4 separate regions of the Homo sapiens genome follow, and regions 2, 3 and 4 are each linked to region 1. Evidence: promoter capture Hi-C in 16 types of primary human blood cells and fetal thymus (Javierre and others, 2016). All regions are on one chromosome and are shown on one strand. The core of a region is centred on a gene start or on the middle of the fragment in contact, and the rest is flanking DNA. Distances in the headings are between cores, read along the strand shown.

What was found. Contacts are between HindIII fragments. The CHiCAGO score rates a contact against its expected background, and 5 or more counts as called.
Region 2: a fragment that was not itself captured here is called in contact with the fragment with the promoter of CNEP1R1 in region 1 in 1 of 17 cell types (fetal thymus); the score reaches 5.1 in fetal thymus.
Region 3: a fragment that was not itself captured here is called in contact with the fragment with the promoter of CNEP1R1 in region 1 in 4 of 17 cell types (total CD8 T cells, naive CD8 T cells, monocytes and 1 more); the score reaches 8.2 in total CD8 T cells.
Region 4: a fragment that was not itself captured here is called in contact with the fragment with the promoter of CNEP1R1 in region 1 in 2 of 17 cell types (total CD8 T cells and activated CD4 T cells); the score reaches 6.2 in total CD8 T cells.

What each region holds. Positions count from the first base shown.
Region 1 is chr16:50,023,427-50,026,871 of GRCh38, reverse strand. It overlaps CNEP1R1 (CTD nuclear envelope phosphatase 1 regulatory subunit 1), which reads right to left and starts at 1,647. Exons shown (of 6, transcript NM_001281789.2): 1 at 1,532-1,647; 2 at 405-476. The coding sequence starts at 1,556. RefSeq lists a silencer at 1,334-1,643 and an enhancer at 1,457-1,958. The HindIII fragment of the contact is 11,127 bases long and covers 729-3,445 here.
Region 2 is chr16:49,435,398-49,438,842 of GRCh38, reverse strand. All of the region lies in intron 2 of LOC105371244 (a long non-coding RNA gene), which reads left to right. Among named protein-coding and RNA genes, the nearest start is that of LINC02179, 29 kb to the left of the region's middle. The HindIII fragment of the contact is 4,036 bases long and covers 1-3,445 here.
Region 3 is chr16:50,558,292-50,561,736 of GRCh38, reverse strand. All of the region lies in intron 3 of NKD1 (NKD inhibitor of Wnt signaling pathway 1), which reads right to left. Among named protein-coding and RNA genes, the nearest start is that of NKD1, 12 kb to the right of the region's middle. The HindIII fragment of the contact is 5,014 bases long and covers 1-3,445 here.
Region 4 is chr16:50,540,342-50,543,786 of GRCh38, reverse strand. No RefSeq gene overlaps it. Among named protein-coding and RNA genes, the nearest start is that of NKD1, 6.3 kb to the left of the region's middle. The HindIII fragment of the contact is 1,439 bases long and covers 907-2,345 here.

The DNA of each region.
Region 1 (3,445 bases), core at 398-2,897:
CCTCCTGAGTAGCTGGGATCACAGGCAGCGTCACCACGACCGGCTAATTTCGTATTTTTAGTAGAGACGGCGTTTCACCGTGTTGGCCACGCTAGTCTTGAACTTCTGACCTTAGGTGATCCGCCTGCCTGGGCTTCCTAAAGTGCTGGGATTACAGGCGTGAGCTACGGCGCCTGGCCAAAAAATATGTTTTTTAATGGAAAAACAAAAACAACCACACGAAATAGACTGTTCTTTTGAGAAGGCCAGTTATAATTTCCTTTTCTTAAAAATTTCTTCATAAGGCATTGTCTACAATGTTAAATAAATTTAAACAAACATTTTACATAAAAGCAAATCATTCCTATATTAGGATAAAAGTATCAATTGTTAGTTTTCCCTTAAAATAACATTCAGGAACTTACTTCTCCAGCGTCCAGTAGCAGGTTGCAAACAATGAATATATTCAGTAAGTCTCCTCTCAAAAGCCTTGAGATCTAGGTATAAAGATGTCAATTTTCTAATTAGCCACTCTTACTCGTCTGACGAAATGTCAGAGTATTTACCTAACATTAAGACGACATGTGAGATACTCTTAACTGCTTCAGGTCTTACACACTAACTTCCATGTATCACTGCACTGTTTATTTCATTTACTATGACAGCTTTTTAAGCACTTGACAAAAAATTAGGGCTCTTTAATTCCAATTTCTCATATAAGAAAACTTGCTGATTTACTTTTAGAAGCTTCATAAATGGTATTGGGAGAAATAAGCAGCAGCCTCGGCCAGCGCCAAAAGCGAACATTTTCAGGGTTGCAAATAAAATTAAAATCAGGTCGAGTTTTAGCTCTCTGGGAACCAAGAACTTCCTATTAGAACCACGTAGTGCCTAACATCAAAGTCTTCGAGGTCTACCTGACTGCAATTACCCGCCTCCGGTTTCCAGCTCTTATATTTAATTAATGGCTACGCCGTCTGGCCTTACTAGACTTCTTGACACTGATAGCGAGTGGGTGTGGAAAGACATTCCCCTTGCCCCCTCCGAAGGGGTACAGGTGATCTTCGTGGCACCCAGGCAGCGCCTAGTTCTAGAAGACAGGGGCGTCTAAGCTGCTCCGAGTGAGTGGTGGGGTATCCTTTCCGCAGTGGTGTGCTTTAAACTTTAAAACACCGAGCAGCACTTCCTAACCTTGGCAGTTACCGGAAACCACCGCAGGAATCAGGGATACAACTCGCGGGGCTGTGAGAATGAAATGAAATGAATTAGCAGGCTGCAATGCACGAAGTGCAAGTGTCTGCCAGTGAAAAGAAAATAAAAATAGAAGCTGGCGAGGAGGTCGACCCTCTAGGTTTGTGGGGACTCAGGGAGCTGAGGCACCGCCCCCCGCGTCTGGCCAGGTACGGCCGCCTACGCGCCCCCAAGCTCCGGGCCCCTAGCTCCATCCTCTGCGGCCTCCTCCCGGGGCGGGGGTCTTCACGACGCCGGCTCCTCCGGAGCACCGCCAGCTTCCGAGGGGAGACGGGGGACGGGCCCGGGCGGCCCACCCTACCTTCCGCCTGCTCCAGCGAGTTCATGTCGGGCGGCAGCTCGGGTCACCGCCGCTGCCCTGTCCGCATCGCAGCTTCCGCGGCCCCCGCCCGGCCCGCAGCGCCAACTCCCACCTCTAACCGCTCCCCGCTGCCCCTCCCCGTCGCACCGCCCCTTGCCTAGACCCGCTACGCTCATTGGATTCCTCTACTAGACCTCCAACTAAGACAGCTTTCTATTGGCTGTCTCTTGCACCGGCCTCGGCGCCTAGCGTTGGACGGTCAGCCGGAGGGACCAAGAACTGCCGGCGGCCAGGCGGGCGTAACGCTGGCGTCGCCTGCTGCCCCGGGGAGGAACTGCAGCCCTCCGGAGCCAGTTCGTTCATTCATTTATCCCCCGTTCCCCGCTTGGTTCTTTCATTCGTCAAATGTTGATTGAGCGCCCACTACCTTCCAGGCATTATTCTGGTCGCTAGCGAGGGATACAGAAATCAAAGAGCTGGTTCTGTCCTCAAGGATCTCAAGGAGTAATGAAATCTGTACAGAACTAACTAGAACCCTAAATAACCAGTTTCCTTAATTATGGTATCCTAGATAACCAACCCCTTAAGTAAACACTTCTCTCTTGGTTACTTTCCTCTCACATCACCCAGCTTTCATAATTCCTAAATGAGGCAAAGTGTAAGCCCAAATACCTATAACTTAAGAAGAGATCTGTAAGGGATTGACTACATTTGTATTTGATCACAAGGCCTTCTTGTTCATTTATTGGTGGCATTCTTTCATTCAAAATCATTTTATTGCCTAACATGCTAGACACTGTATTGATACGCGTGTGAGCCAGGTAGACAGGATTCCTGCCCGCAAAGAGGAAGGGCTACAGCAGGCAACAAACATGCAAATAAGTAATTGATTTCAAATAAGAATAGTTGTGTTAAAATAGAGATCCTGGCCGGGCGCGGTGGCTCACGCCTGTTAATCCCAACACTCTGGGAGGCTGAGGCGCGTGGATCACTTGAGGTCAGGAGTTGAGACCAGCCTGGGCAACATGACAAAACCCTGTTTCTACTGAAAATACAAAAAAATTATCCAGACGTGGTGGTGCATGCCTGTAATCCCAGCTCTTTGGGAGGCTGAGGCACGAGAGTCACTTGAACCCAGGAGACGGAGGTTGCAGTGAGCCACTGCACTCCAGCCTGGGTGACAGCGTGAGACTGTCAAAAAAGAAAAAGAAAAAAAAAAGAATCTAAGACTGATGGGCTAGATTTTTTTGTGGCAGTAACATACCAACTTATAAACAAGACCTAAGGCCCTGCCAGGCAAGGGTTAAATCACTCAAGACCCAGACACTTAAAGAATAAACGATGTTCTAACTGCCACAATGTTCGTTTTTTTCCTCTAGCAGCTAAACAAGCAATATTAAAACAATTGCAGCTTACCAAGTACCAGTCACTGACTAACTGATCCCTTTGTTCCACAAGCCATAACTCCTGCTTTCATTAGACAAGAGACTGATTTCAGTAACTTTCTCCTGATAAGAGACCACCCACCATAGATTGGCCCTAGCCAGTCTACAGAGGCTGCACAATGAGTGCCTTTATGTTCTCTGCTTCGCCTTTTGACGTAAAGGGTCTAACTGTAATGCATTTAAATGTTAAGTCTCTACCCCAAAGTGAACATGTGACCCATGTAACATGCATGATTGTTTATTATGCATGTGTGCACCCCTCTTTCCTGAATAGCTTCTCCTATAACCTGTTAAATATGTATACTTGGCCAACCCATTTGGCATAAATTCCTGCTTCACCCTTCCTCCTTCAAAGTGCCTGCTTTTGGTCTCTGCCAGAGACCATACTTCCCAGCCTATAAGGATGGCCAGCCTGCAGGCTCCAACCCTTCAGAAATAAACCTCTTTAGGCCAGGCACAGTGGCTGATG
Region 2 (3,445 bases), core at 353-2,852, 590 kb after region 1:
GCCCTGAAGTGGGCAGGGGGAAAAGAGAAAACAAAGATCCCGACCTGCTCTGATTTTTAGAAAATACATCTGGGCAATTTCAGGCGACGGGAGGCTCTTTCCCTCTCAGTTCTGCTCCCCCACCACTGCCTCTCCCCCAAGATCCTGGATCTTTCCTGCCAGGAAGAGTCCTCCTCTAGGTCCTACGGGATCTCCTTGCTGCAGCCTCTCCTTGCCCCACCACCCTGCTGGGTCAAGCTCCCAAAACCAGAGCAGACGGCGCTTCTCTAGTTCCCTCACTGGCTCCTCATTGCCTGCTGGTAAACCCCAGACTCCTAAGCCTGGCATTCAAGGCCCACAATTCAAGCTCATCTGCATCCTCAAATACAGGATCGGAGCTGATGGATCTTTCCTGCCAACACAACCCCTGAAAGTGTGTGGCACAGACGGACTGCACGCCTTGGTACATATGACATTTTTTTGTTTGTTTTTGAGACAGAGTCTCTCTCTGTCACCCAGGCTGGAGTGCAGTGGTGCGATCTCGGCTCATTGCAACCTCCCCTCCTGGACTCAAGTGATTCTCCTGCCTCAGCCCCCCAGTAGCTGGGGTTAAAGGCAACTGTCACCACACCTGGCTAATTTTTGTATTTTTAGTAGAGACGGGGTTTCACCATGTGGGCCAGGCTGGTTTCAAACTCCTGACCTGAAGTGATCCACCAGCCTCGGCCTCCCAGAGTGCTGGGATTATAGGTGTGAGCCACTGTGCCTGTCCCACATCATGTTTTTGTACCTCTATGCCTCTGCTCACCATCCTTTCCTCCTGAAACATCCCTGGCCACCTCACTCCTCTGAGCTGTGCCAGCTCCATTTACTTGCATTTACTAGTTTACTAGACCTTTCTGCAGCTTGGATTCTGTTCTGTTGTGGTTATTGCTAGGAACAAGACAGATCCGGTCTCTATCCATAGTGAGCTTCCATTCCAGGAAAGGAAAAAGACAGTAACCAAGAAAACAGATAAAAACTAGCGGGGACATCCCAAGGTGATAAACTTTGAAGGAAATAAGTAGTGTGATGTCTTGGGGAACTTGGGGTAGGGGCTCTTTTCCTGGGGGGGTCTCAGGGAGGGTCCCTGAGCATGATATTTGGGCTGAGACCTGAAGGATGAGAGGCAACAAGACCTGCAGAAAAGTGGGGGGAAGGAAGCTCAGCCCCAAAGCTCTGGGGAGGGAAGGGCTTTGTTGTTCTAGGAACCAAGGTGAGGAGGGCACTGTGCTCACCAGAAGGACTGCATTGCAGGCCACGGGAAGGCAGCAGAGGGCGGCACTTCCGAGCCGGAGCCCCAGGGTGGATGGCTGGGCTCAAATACACTGTGCGGCTGTGTGACCTTGGCAAGTTTTCTAACTTCTCTGTGCCTCAATTTCCTCATCTGAAAAATGGGGATACATTATAAAGAGTACATGAGTTCATATTGCACATTGTTTAGAATTATGTGTGTGTATTCATTCACTAAATTGTCCAGGAACTTGTACACATTTTATTTAGGTCTTCATTTTTACAAGTTGTAACCAGTGATCACTGGTTACAATTGGAAGCCAGCAAGCACTTGTTCTTGGGATGGAATAGAACAAAATAAAGAGCCTAGATGTGAACCTCGGGAAATCCGAGCCAGCTGAACCTTGCCCGAGTCCCAGGCCCACTCTCTGGAGAGTGGCAGAGGATCCTGCCTGGAATTTCTGGGGACCAAAACCATTGAAAAGAGCCCTGCAATGTACCCCCTTCTCAGGAGGAACAGCCAGGCACCCGTTTGGGGAGGAGAAGAGGGTGATTTCACCAGGGCTGGTGGGGAATGTGTGATAAGCCAGGATACAATGTGGCTTGAATCTTTGCCCTTGTTGGACGGGAATATGAAATTAAGCATTCAGACCTGGAAATCCTGTTTCTCCCAGGATTCTGCTCCTTTGGAAGACAGCACCTCTCCTAGCACAAAGGGAGAGGAAGCAGCTGATGGAGCTGAAAGAAAAGGAGTTCCTGGGATGAAGGAAGATATAAGATTGTTAGGGGGAGAGATGAGAGGAGACACGTGGAGGGAGAGAGAGACCGAGAAACGGAGGAATGGAATCCCAAAGGAGTGTGTGTGTGGAGAGAGAGAAAGAAACAGGAGGCAGGGACACACACAGATGGACAGACAGTGAGAAGCAGAGACAGAGAAAGATGGAGACATTGAGACAGGCAGAGACAAGCAGAAAGAAACTGAGAATAAAAGACCTTGGGGCACAGAAAGAGAGACAGGAGCGAAGAAAACTAGACACAGAGACAGAGCAAGGGAGAAGGCCAAGGGTGAAAAGTCTCAACTGGACCCCTTTGACTACAGCCATTTGCCTGAAATAAAGCTCGCACTGTCTTCCAAGGTTGTGTTGGGAAAAAGTTATTTCTTTTGCAGCCACTTCCAGCACACACTCTCCAGCAACCCCTCCTTCCCCCGGGCATGCACGGGTACCTACGTGTGCACGAACAGGTGCACACACTCACCATGTCCCAAGGCACATGTCTGCTCCCCCAAAACCCAGGATCATTGATTCCCCTGGGTTTCATGCTCTTTTCTGTCCCATCTGTATTTGAAACTCTTTTGCTCGAGTCTAGAGAGTGTGTGCCCTCACCTTAACAAGGCTTGGAATGTTATCTTTGATTTTAACAAACAATAAGCACGTGGGTCCTGGATTCTTTCCATTTGCTTTGGGACCCCTTTCAGTCCGGTTTTGTACCTAGTGGCTGGGACTGTCCTCTTCAGTAGGTGTCCCCTGTTGCTGGTGGGCTCACCTGCCACCACCAACACTTCTCTGTTTCTGGCTTCTGGAATTTTTGCAGTAGATTTAGCCTGAGGCTGGTTCCATGGGAAGCCCAGAACCTGGGGTACCAGAGTAAGGCTAGGCCAGATGGGGAGCAGGCCAGGTTCTCTAGAAGCTGAAAACTTGAAATCATCCCCTTTCTTCAGCTTTCTTGAAATACGGTTTCCCAGGCACCCCTCTGACCCTCGCCCACCTCTGTCCTGACTCCTGATGTTGACTGTGACACTGAGGGGCAGGGGACAAGGAGCACTGTGGTAGTTCTGGACTGATGGCTCTGCCAGCTTTAGAAATGTCAGATCTGGGGGAACCTGGATCATAATACCAATTGCCGGTATCAATGAGGCCTTAGTGTCCTAGATACATCACATGCACCCTTTTATGTAATCTTCACCAAAGCTCCATGAAGTGGGCACTCTTACCATCTCCACTTTATAGTTGCAGAAATGGAGTTTCAGAAGGGTAGAGGCGCTGGCCCAGTGTTACCTTGCTCTGATTCTAAGGCCCATGCTCCTAAGCAGTCGATATTATAGTGACTTTTGATTCCCTTGAGGATTTCTTTCCTCAGTGGATATTTGCAGGAAGATTTGGGAGCCCCAGTCACTGAAGGACTGTGCCTTCCT
Region 3 (3,445 bases), core at 467-2,966, 530 kb before region 1:
TTGTTGCTAATTCCAGGCCTAAACCTTAAAGAGTCCTGGCCGTTTTTGCTTCTATACTCTTGGGAAAGACAGCCACCATGTAAATCTGATTACCCTGAGACTGCCATACTGTGAGGAAGCCCAAGCTACTCATGAGGTGAGGCCAACTAGAAGAGAACTGAAGCCCCAGACATGTCACTTATTTGGAGCTGCTGCAGTCAGACCCTTGCTGTTAGAGCCACCCTAACTGTGCTACATGGAGCCACAGACAAGTTGACCCTCCCAGGCTTGGTCCAAAGTGCATACTCTTAAGCAAGTCACAAAGTGATCAAGTCACTAATCTTTGGACTTTTTTTTTTTTTTTACAGCAGTAGAAACAAAGCCTTCTCCTTTCCTTTAATGCATTTTTGAGAGGAGGAAGCAGAAGGCAGGAGAGGTCATAATAGATACCTCATAGCTAAGCTGGAGGCACCCCCAGGCTCAGGGTTCCCAGCGCAGCATTGTGTCCAACCCCTGATGACTGAGCCATGTCTGTGTTTCTCCTGGGATGAAGCTGCTGCTGTTGGCTTCTCAGGGGAGAAGCCATGGGCCCCCCCTCCATGGGACTGCTCATCCTCTTCATTCCCTAAGCAAAGGGAGTGAGCCAGCAGCAAGCACCCACAGCATCCCTGGGAGCACTGACCCAGGCCCAAAAGTCAACAAACCAAACAGCTCAGAAAGCACAGAGAGGTCAGGAAAGTTGCCCTAGGTCACACTGCTAGTGAGAAGTAGAGCCAGGGCTCAAAACCAGGCATTCAGGCTCAGGGCCTGCACCAGTGACCCACACCAGCGTTTTTCTAATACTCTGATTATGACCTATAGTAAGAATTATATTTTACAATATGCCTCTGCTGTAGATAGATAGATAGATAGATAGATAGATAGATAGATAGATGGGTTTGGGTATAGGTGTGTGTAAAGTGTGTGTATACATTTTTTTTAACTAGAACAAAAAATTACACAAAACAATATTTACTCTTACTATATATAATGTTTTCTCATATTTTTACTCTATTTCATTTTGGTCACTAAATTGATGTCATGAACCATGAATGGGGCTGAGACATACAGTTGAAAAAAAAAAAAAAACTCGCCTAAACTGATTTAAGATGGCTCTAAAATCACACTGAGTGATCTGAATTTGAATCTTGCTGAAGCAAGATTCCACTTCCAAGTTAAGTGACCTTGGGCAATATGGTTGACTTCTTTAAAGCCTCAGTTTCCCTATGGGTAAGATGGGCATAATAATAACAGCGGCCTCATAACAGTGCTCTGAGAATCCAGCACTATGAACAGTGCTTGGCCCAGAGCCTGGCACACAGCAGACACGCAGCAAGCAGCAGCTACGCTGTTACCACCTCCTCCTCGGGCTGCAGCTCCCAGACTCAGCACGGGGCTATGCACACAGTGGGCAGCTCGCGGGCACACTGAGCCTGCAGCCACTGAGAAAGCAGGCACGTGCCCAGGACCAGCTGAGGCAGTGGGTGCCTTTGGACTTTCCAGGGCAGGGAGGAAGCAGAGAAAGTCCCCAGTGCCCGCTGAAAAGGCAACTTTGTTCCTGGATTATAGTAGTTCTCTTCAATCATCTTTTTGCCTTTGAAGGGGGAAAGAAGGGTAAAACAACAAAGTCAGGGTCAAAAACTGTCCTGGAACAAGGCTCCCTCTGGAAACCAGGCATGGAATGGGCATGGCACCACACACCAGCACCCCCAAACCCACTCACTGGAGCCACCGCAAGCCGAGGCCTCTGAGTGAGGGGCCCACCAGCCCACGCAGCCTTCTGAAGTTAGAAAAACATCCTCCGGCCTGAGCCCATTAGGGAGGCTGTGGCCTGAGGGAAGACAGCCCCATCCTGCTAACAGGGTCCTTTTATGCTCTGCCTCTCCCCTCCTCAGGACCCCAGCTCTATGCTCAAGGCCAGAAGGCTTGGGCAGCCCAGCAGGCCAGCCAATCCGCTCCAGGGTGACACTATTTCTTGTGACTGAGAGGTTCTCCTCCCTACCTCTTCCAACCTGACCAGAAAGCTGGAGTCCACAGACACCAGTAACACTTCATGGAAGACTTGCGGCAAGGAGACAAGGCCTCATGACGGGATGCAACATACAGTGGTACCACCCAGCCCAGCAGGCACTGCCCACTCCCTGCTGCTGCACCACATAGTTCTGCTCTAACACCTCAGAGACTGGAATGTGGTTCCAAGTCAGACACCGAGAAGGAGGCTGAACACTTTCTCTGTGCACCAACCCTGCATGCCTCTTGCCCTTTGCACATCCCGTGCCTTCTGCCTGGAATATTTTTAATAAACCTTTCCCCACCTAGCTATTTCCTATTTATTCTTTGGGTCTTAACGACTTACGCATCACTCCCTAATCTGAAGTAGAATCCTCCGTTATTCTCCTTCCCCATCCTTTTCCTTCACTGCACTTAGCACACTGGTACCACACTGAGCACACATCCAGGTGATCACTAGCAAACAACACTGGCAAGCTGCAAAAGAAGGGGTGACATCTCCTTTATTCTTTAACTTGCTGAAATGAACCCATTTCTACCCTTAAAACAACCCAATGAGGTAGGAACCATTACTCTACCCATTCCACAGATGTGAAAACTGAGAATCAGAGATGAGCCATCACTTGGCCCAAGGCCACCGAGCTGGGGAGAAGTGCAGCTGGGACTCAGACCCAGGAAGTCTGATTCTGCAAGTTCTAAGCACACCTCTGGCACCTTCTATGGGCACATGCTGGTCTTCAGCATAAAGTCTCCCAGCCCACATCTTTGTTTTGTTGTTTGTTTGTTTGTTTGTTTGTTTGAGACAGAGTTTCACTCTTGTCACCCAGGCTGGAGTGCAATGGCACGATCTTGGCTCACTGCAACCTCCATCTCCCGGGTTCAAGGAATTCTCCTGCTTCAGCCTCCCAAGTAGCTGGGATTACAGGTGCCTGCCACCATGCCCGGCTATTTTTTTTTTCTTTCTTTTCTTTCTTTTTTTTTTTTTTTTTGTATTTTTAGCAGAGACGGGGTTTCGTCATGTTGGCCAGGCTGGTCTCAAACTCCTGACCTCAGGTGATCCACCAACCTCGGCCTCCACCAACCTCGGCCTCCCATCCCAGCCCACATCTTTACTTACCCTTCCTGTGCCTCCCACATTGCTCTCCCACCAGACTGAAATACACTGTGCACAGCTTCCTGGCAATGAGCCTTTGCTTGGCCTGCACTCTCTGCCTTGGATGCAGCCTGCATCCAGCTCTCCCTGGCTGGGCTAGTGACTCTAATTTGCTGGGCCTGCCTCCTCATCTATGCGATAGCGGAATAATACCTAAGGCAGTTGTGAGGATTCTACAAGAGAATGCATGGAAAGTATTAGGCACAATGTTGAGTCCATATGATACTCACTCGTGTGTCCTTTTATCACTAACATACTGCTTCT
Region 4 (3,445 bases), core at 377-2,876, 520 kb before region 1:
AGTACAGTCTGGATGTGGGGTTGAATTGAATTGAATTTGTGTACCACCAACTCCTCCTGGGTTCAGGATGTTTGAGCAAGTTTAGAGCACAGGCTTCCCAGGTGAGCCTGGAGGAGAGGGAAAGCCAGCCCAGCCTCCCCATCTCCTTGGCAGGTGCCTTGTTCTCCTCCCAGCCCTGCCTCTCTGCTCTTCTTCACACTGGGCAGAGAAGCTATATTAGTCCGTTCTCAGGCTGCTACAAGAACATACCGGAACTGGGCAATTTATAAAGGAAAGAGGTTTAATTGACTCACAGTTCTACATGGCTGGGGAGGCCTCAGGAAACTTACAATCATGACAGAAGGAGAAGCAAACACGTCCCTCTTCACATAGCAGCAGGAGAGAGAGGTGCCGAGCAAAGGGGAAAAGCCCCTTATAAAACCATCAGATCCTGTGAGAACTCACTATCACAAGAACAGCATGGGATTAACTGCCCTCATGATTCAATTACCTCCACCTGATCCTGCCCTTGACATATGGGGATCATTACAACTCAAGGTGAGATTTGGGTGGGAACACAGAGCCAAACCATATCAGAAGCCTTTCTAGTCACAGTACCAGTCTTTGACTATTCCCAGACTTTGTTAACAAAAGAGCAAAAGAAGCCCCTATCTTTTTAAGCCTTTGTTTTTCAGTTACATGCAGCCAACCAGACCACCACACAGCCTCTCCACCTATAAAATAGAAGGAAGGGTCCAGAAGATTAGCATTTCCCGTAATGGGTTCCCCCGACCACTGGTTTGTGAGATGCTATTATTATGTGCAAGAAAGGACTCCATGAGAAACTTTGGGCAGCCCTAGCTTAGCCAAAAGAAGACAAGTTTTTTCCTGCAGGACTTGTCAGAGCTTTCATTGAGTAGCCAAGCTTTGTGATTCTCTAAATGGAGAGCATCGTCATAAGCAGGGTTTCTTAAACTCACCAGACCAGGAAACCATTTCTGGAAAACAAGTTCATGGAACATGCTTTGGAAAATACTGGACCAGATGACTTTTAAGGTTTCTTCCCATCTGAGATTCCAACTACTGACTCCAGGAGCCTAGACTGGGAGGGTGATAGGAAGGAAAGCTCAGTGAGGGGAGAGCCAGTGTGGAAAGGTTCCCTGAAGGAGACCATCTGCAAGTGTTGATGGTGTGTGTTTCATGTGTTTTTGGACATATTTGTCCACTTATAGCCCTCTGTAAGTATTCAGCAAATGAACACTTACTATGCAAGTGCCTCCCATTGGTACACAGTTCTTAAGGCCACAGCTCAAGGAGTGAAGGAAAAGTGGTCACTATAGCAAAGCTCATAGTTAATTTTCCTGTATCACCTGCCTTCCCTTCCAGCTTAGCTTCCTCCTCCTCTTCCTTCTTCCATGGCACAGAACACAGCTTCAAGGTGGCCCCTGCCACCACGTTGGTAACACCTGACTCCTTCACCCCTTAGCCAGAGCTGACTGGATGCCTGACCCATTGGCCCAACCCATCAGGATCTCTTTGCAGAATCTGAATGGAGAGGCCAGGGGCCTGCAGTCCACTTCCTGGTGGTCTCTACAGCTGTAGAGCTCCATAGTCCCAGGGGTTGGAGCAGCTTCTTGGGGTCGCTGTGGGCTGAAAAATAAGCAGGAAGAAGCAGGAGTAAGAACCATTAGGGGAAAGCAATGATAGTAAACCCCATGGAGAGAGAGACACAGACAGACTGGTCCCTGACTAACTGTATATGCTGACCTTGGATCCCTCCCTGTAAGACTCTTAATCCCCCTTTCTTGAGCTAGGGTCAAATAGCCTAGAGGAGGGCTCCCTGGAATTTAATGTGCATATGAATTCACCGGGATCTTGTTGAGATGCAGTGTGAGTGGAGCCTGAGAGTCATTTCTCACCAGCTCCCAGGTGAGGCTGATGGTGCTGGTGTATAGACCACACACAGTTGGAGGCTCTAGAAAGTTAAGCCTTCTCAGAAGCAACCAAGGTTACATAGCTTGCCCTTGCCTCGCATAAGCAGCCATGCTGGGGAGGAGATGGAGAGGCCAAAGTCAGGGAGGAGGCAACCAAGAAATAAAGGTGGGTGCTTCTCTTTTATTTATCATGTCATTCAGTGAAGATTTGTTGGGCGCCTAATTTACATCAGGCTCTTGTGTCCACAAAACAGACAAAAATGCCATCCTCATGAAGTTTATATTCTCATAGAGGAAGACAGACAATAAATACATAAGTCAGTGAAATATGTGGTGTGTCTATGGGAGAAAAAATTCAAGTGATAAAGAGAAAGAAAAAATACCAGGGCAGGAGCTAATGATTTTAGATAGACAGGTCAGAGAGGATAAGCTTTGTGCAAAGACTTGAAAATGAGGAAGAAACAGAGGGAACAGCATGTGCAAAGGGCCTGAGGTAAGGATATGCCAGGAATGTTTTGGAAACAGCAAAGAGGCCCCCGGCTCTGGAGCAGAGAGACCACAGTTTGGGAGTATTGGGGAGAAGATGAGGTTGGAGGTGACGGGGACAGATCATGAGACCCTTATAGGTCTCATCAAAAACTTCAGCTTTCCTGGAGAAAGACAGGAGTTACTAGAAGAGAGTTGTGGCTGGGCATGGTGGCTCATGCCTGTAATCCCAGCACTTTGGGAAGCTGAGGTGGGTTGATCCCTTGCAACCAGAAGATTGAGGCCAGCCTGGGTAACATGACAAAATCCTGTCTCCACAAAAAATAATTTTAAAAAGTAGCCAGGTATGGTGATGCATGTCTGTATTCCAAGCTACTAGGGAGGCTGAGGTGGGAGGATTGCTGGAGCCCAGGAGGCAGAGGTTGCAGTGAGCTGAGACTGCACCACTGCACTCAAGCCTGGGCAACAGAGTGAGACCCTGTCTCAAAAAAAGAGAGAGTAGTAACCAGAGCAACTGGGCTGCTGTGTTGAGAATAAGTGTGGGTCACAGGGCTATGGTGGGGCGCCAGGCCTGAGATGATGGCGACTTAGACCAGGTGATGGCAGTGGAGGAGGTAAAAGAAGTTGGACGCTGAATGTATTTTGAAATTAGAGGCAACAGCATTAGCAAATGTATTGGACGTGGAGTGGGAGAGAAACAGAGAAACTAAGGAAGCCGCCAAGATGCGGGGCCTAAGCAACTCCAAGGATGGAGCTGCCATGAACTGCAATGAGGAAGCCTGCGGGTGGAGCTGGTCTGCCAGGCAAGGAAGAAGAGGAGCTCCATTTGGCACGTTGTTTTGAGACGACCGTTGAGTGTCCTGGCAGTGAGATTGAGTGGCCAGTTGGATCTATGAGCCCAGAGTACAGAAGCAAGCTGCAGGCTGCAGATATGTGCCCAGGCATCATAAGCAGGCAGATGGAATTGAAAGCCCAACACTGGATGTGATGCCCTGGGGAATGACTGTGGACAGAGAACAGAAGAGGGCCAAGGAGAGAGCCCCATG